2 separate regions of the Homo sapiens genome follow, and region 1 is linked to region 2. Evidence: promoter capture Hi-C in human tissues and cell types (Jung and others, 2019). All regions are on one chromosome and are shown on one strand. The core of a region is centred on a gene start or on the middle of the fragment in contact, and the rest is flanking DNA. Distances in the headings are between cores, read along the strand shown. Region 1 overlaps TRIM58 (tripartite motif containing 58). Region 2 holds the start of OR2T8 (olfactory receptor family 2 subfamily T member 8).

Region 1 (2,700 bases), core at 182-2,681, 40 kb before region 2:
TGTGATAGATTTGCAAACAGAGGAAATAACGCATCCTCGTGTCCCTCTTCTTGGTGTTCCACAGGCCATGTGTGCCCTAGCCCTCGTTCATGCAAGGTCTGTGTAGGGAAGGTGGACTTCAGCTCAGCAACAGCATCCCTTCCCACAGGGATCAGGTGGGTGGCTTGAGATACCCCTTCCATGGGGCACCACCCATTCAGTGAGACGGGGAAGCCCTGGGTGGGAGGGAGAACACCTCCACATGTCTTCTACTCTCTCCATAGGATGGAATGAGTGTCCCAGTCCCAGGAGTATCCATTTCCCACTGTGTAGCCCAGTACTCTGGTCTCACTGTCTCTGCTGAATCCTGTCTCACTGTGCATATTATTGTGGTTTATATCAGTCAGTAAACCAATGTGAGTCTTCATCTCTTGCATTCTTAGGTTCATAGTTTTGTGTGTCTCCTGTAATGACTCTTCTCTTTCCCTTTCCAACTCCTGAAAGATTGCCACTATTTCCTCTGGAACTTTGTTTCGTTACCAGCAAAATCCTCGACATCCATACCCGTTTCCTGGCTTTCCCTCTCCTTTCCTCTGAATGGTAGTCTTTTATATTCAGCTGTCCACTTGACATCAAAATAGACATTTTGAACTCAATTTGCCTAAAACTTACCCACAAATTTCTCCCCAAGTCTCTCCCTAACTGCAACAACAAAAACCACAGGCTTCTCCCTGTCACTGGATGGCAACTCCATTCTTTTGATTGCTTAAGCCAGGCATCCGATTGAGTACTTTCTTGATTTCTCCAGCCCACATCCAGTCCATCGGCAAGCCCTGTTGGTCCTACCTTCAGAATATGTCCGGGGTTCAGTTGTCCTGGCCACCCTGCTGCTGTAACCATGGTCAGAACTCCATCCTGCCCCTCTGGATTATGACTTTCGTTTCCTCACAGTGGTCCTGCTTGGGCTCTAGGCCCTTCCACTCCCATTCTCTCTACAGCAGCTGGGCTGATTCCTTTAGCACCCAAGGATATGTTGGCATCACAGTGACTTAGATACCATCACAAAGACCTCCCATTCAACTTAGAGTGAAAGTCAGAATCCTCACAGTGAATCCCCAGGCCCTAGAGGATGTGAACCCCCAGGCCCTAGAGGATCTGAACCCCCATCCCTCCTCTGATTATCTCTCCCACCCCCACTTCCCTTTGCATTCTGCTCCAGCTGCCCTGGCCTCATGGCTGGGTTTCCACCAAAGCAGGCACTTCCCATCACAGGGCCATTTCCCCGCCTGTGGCTTCTGCTTGACATTCCCTTTTCCCTGATATCCCCTTGACTCATTATTCCCTTTCTTCCTTAACTCTTCTGAGATCCAGCTTCTCAGTGATACCACACAGCCCTACTCCCCCCAGAGCCCATCTAGAGCTCACCTTTCCAGTCGCCCTTGCCAGGCTCAGTGGAGGCTCTTTGTTCCCCATACAGTACGTGTCGTCGTACTATATTGTTAGGCTTATTTAATTTATGTATGTTTTGCCTTTTTGTGCTAAATGTAAACACCACAAGGGGAGGTATCTTTGTCTGTTGACAATGATACATTCAATGTTTCTCAAGCACCCCCAATGCTGGTTTGTATGTGGTTATCATTCAATCTGTATTTGTTGAATGAATAAATGATTGACTATGTGGAGAGCAAAATTGATGGACCTGAAAATGTTTTGCAAAATGTAATATAGTCTACTGATACAATATTTATTATTATTGGCCAATAATGTTTAATGCCAAGTGCTAAATTAGTAAAATTTTGGGGATATAGAGAAAAATTGAGCAGAAGTCTTAAGTTTGTAAACATAATGGATTTTGTGACCTGATAACTTGGCATGTCCAGGCCTAGTCCCATTGAGCCCCCTGTGGTTTTGATTCCCTGTGACATCACAGTGACACCTTTGAATTATGCTTTGTCTCATACTCCATAAGCCACCTCTCAAAATGGTATCATCACTAAAAATATGGGGAACTTTCTATAAACTTACATAGACTACAACCTTTAAAAAAAAAAATTGATGTTAATGTTTTATGTTGCCTTTCTTCACCTAAACGATATGGTGCATCCACGCCATCCAGAAATGGAGTGTCTTGGGTCTGCTGTCCTTCCCGTCGCTTCCCTGTTACTGTGCATTTCTGTTATATACATTTGGCATTTTTTCTATCTCAAATCATAATTTTTTTTCTTTCTGACATATCCTTAAGGACTGCTCTGACAGTTACCAGTGAAATTCTTTCGTTCTCTATAAAAATTTGAACATCAACTCTGGTAGAGCACAGTGGCTCATGCCTGTAATCCCAACACTTGGGGAGACTGCGGTGGGAGGATTGCTCGAGACCAGAAGTTTGAGACCAGCTGGGCAACAAAGCAAGACCTGGTTCCTACAAAAAAAATACAAATTAGCCAGATATGGTGGTGCAAACCTGTAGTCCCAGCCACTTGGAAGGCTGAGGCGGGAAGATGGCTTGAGCCCAGGATTTCAAGTCTGCAGTGAGCCAGGATCACGCCACTGCACTCTGGCCTGAGTGACAGAGTGAGACCCTCTCCCTTAAAAAATAGAAAACTAAAAGAGAAAGTCAATCCCCAACATGAGCTTCTAGCCTTTTCTAAGCTATAACCCTCCAGAACTATGTCTACATATCCAGAAGTGTGGATAATTTATTCAAAGAAGTAATTTGCTTAA
Region 2 (2,700 bases), core at 185-2,684:
ATGCAAGTTGTTGAGATTATTCTCTGAAAACATATGAACCAGTCTGGCACAATTTAAGCGGCTAATTAATTGCAATTGCTATATTTTTATGCTATATATGTTTACCTTACCAAAATAAAAAAAACTAACATCTGTCGTGAAACATTCCATTAAAATGATACTTAAACATACAGCTGAAGTGAGTGGGAGCAACGTTAATGGCTATGACTGGATAATTGAACAAACTGTTATATATGCAGATAATGAAATAGTATTCACCCTTTGGAAGGAAATTCTGACACATGGGATGAACCTTGAGGACATTATGATAAGTGAAATAAGCCAGTCACAGACACACACACACACACACACACACACACACACACACAATACCACATGATTCCATTTATATGAGGTTTCTAAAACACTCAAATTTATAGAGACACAAAATAGAATGGTGGTTGCTGGGGGCTGTGTGTGAGAAGAATGGGGAGTTATTTCACAGTGGGTACAGAATTTCAATTTAGGGAGGTGAAATGAGATTCATAGATGGATATTGTGGATGGTCATACAACAATATGATTATACTTGAAGCCACTGTACTGATTGTGCCTTAAAAATATTTAATATGATAGAAAAAATAATTTAAGAAACTTGTCCAACACCCTACAGTTATGACATTACAGACTGATTTTTTAAAAGATATTTAAAGTTGATCAAGCTTCAACACTAAGGAAGGTTGGGAAAACGGAGAAATGGAAGATATCGAGTGAAAGAAATGAGTCAGGAGGGTTTTGAGGTCTTTCAGCAAAGTGACACTAAGGGCTGTAATTAGAGATTTTGTATAGTTCCTACGTGTAGAAAGTACATGTTATTGCATTTTCTAAGAAGTAAAAAGAAAAAAATAGAGCATGTTAGAGATACGAAGGTGTGAAGATCACAAAGTTTTGTCAAATGCAGAATTTATTTGTCAAGAAGGACATATGTATATTTCCATGATGTTTAAATTTTAAACAACCAAATAAAACCCTCAGGTATTGTGCTGCCCGTACAATTATGATGCTCAAGTAATGCACTCTGGTATTGACTGACGCAACTGCACTGCCTTTCCCAGTCGTGACTGGCATTTTAGTTTAGGGTGGATACAAAAAGTGGAGGCAAAGGGAATGCGCATGGAAGAGATGGGCTCCTTCTGCCATATAACTTTATTGAATTAGACCATATCCTTGAGATTGAATCAGCATCAATACCTCTGCAGGTGTGGCGACATTTATTCAACAAGGTAGAAAACTTCCTGCACCAGCAGATCTAAGATGAAAATGTCTATAAAGATTTCATTTCTCTTGAGACTGAAGAAGACATTAATTTATCTCTGTGATTGGATAAAGATCTTAGTTTTCTTTTTTCTCCTTTACCTGGTAAAGGTTATACTTGTGGACTGATGAGAAAAAGTCTCATTGCAACAAAGTACCTTGTACAGTTAATGAAAATGTGTGTTTACCATTATACTCTTACACTGCAAAGAAATAAAAAATATCCAAGAAGGTCAGTACTGTTTTCAGTCTATCACCTATAAAGGAGGACTAAATGTGTTCACAACTCCAAATTAACTATGTTTTCATCTGCAGACTCAGCCTTTCCAGACCTGAGAATATAAGTCACCCTCTTTAGAAAGGAAAAAAAGTCTTCTTGGATTAAGTCAGGGAAAACTGCCTGATTTTGGTAGGTTTCAATGAGTTTTGATATGTTATAGACCCACAACCTTCACAGTCAAGGATGTAGTTTTATATAATGAAATATACTGACTTAATTCAGCTTCTAAAATATTGACTATGCATGATGTAACTCAAGCACAAATAAAGTGACAAATTATGTGAATCATTTCATTCTCACTCACTTATGATGGTACCAGATAAAGCAAAACCATTCTGACAGGTTACTTGCAACTTATCCAGAACGTGGATTTGTGATATAAAATTAATCAATACTTAGCCTGAGAAGCATTTATTATGAAATCCTTGGAAATGAGAAAAAGTTTAATTAATTTTATGCACAAATTAGAACATTTTGCAAGTGGCAAATGAAAGATTTGACATAGGTTTCATCGCTTTCACACAAGTACTTTTCTATTTTTTTACTACGTAACTCAAATGGAGTACCATAAAGGATAAACACTCTGTCTTCTTTTTCTCCATTTGCAGTGTCACTCTTATTTGAAATCATGGAAAATGGGAGCTATACCTCTTATTTCATTCTCCTAGGACTCTTTAACCACACCAGAGCCCACCAAGTCCTCTTCATGATGGTTCTGAGTATCGTTTTGACCTCCCTGTTTGGCAATTCCCTCATGATTCTCCTGATTCACTGGGACCACCGGCTCCACACGCCCATGTACTTCCTCCTGAGCCAACTTTCCCTCATGGACGTGATGCTGGTTTCCACCACTGTGCCCAAAATGGCGGCTGACTACTTGACCGGAAGTAAGGCCATCTCCCGCGCTGGCTGTGGTGCGCAGATCTTCTTCCTCCCCACACTGGGTGGTGGAGAGTGCTTCCTCTTAGCAGCCATGGCCTATGACCGCTATGCGGCTGTCTGCCACCCACTCCGATATCCCACTCTCATGAGCTGGCAGCTGTGCCTGAGGATGAACCTGTCGTGTTGGCTCCTGGGTGCAGCTGACGGGCTCCTGCAGGCTGTTGCTACCCTGAGCTTCCCATATTG

The links. The method cuts DNA at HindIII sites, captures the fragments that hold promoters and counts their contacts. A contact is called where the count stands out against the background at its distance.
Region 1: a contact is called between a fragment that was not itself captured here and the fragment with the promoter of OR2T8 in region 2, in 2 of the 25 tissues and cell types used here (mesendoderm cells and thymus).

What each region holds. Positions count from the first base shown.
Region 1 is chr1:247,878,470-247,881,169 of GRCh38, forward strand. TRIM58 (tripartite motif containing 58) reads left to right here. Exons shown (of 6, transcript NM_015431.4): 6 at 1-1,669. Among named protein-coding and RNA genes, the nearest start is that of OR2W3, 16 kb to the right of the region's middle. The HindIII fragment of the contact is 3,492 bases long and covers 1-2,700 here.
Region 2 is chr1:247,918,818-247,921,517 of GRCh38, forward strand. It overlaps OR2T8 (olfactory receptor family 2 subfamily T member 8), which reads left to right and starts at 1,435. Exons shown (of 2, transcript NM_001005522.2): 1 at 1,435-1,701; 2 at 2,181-2,700. The coding sequence starts at 2,201. The HindIII fragment of the contact is 8,254 bases long and covers 1-2,700 here.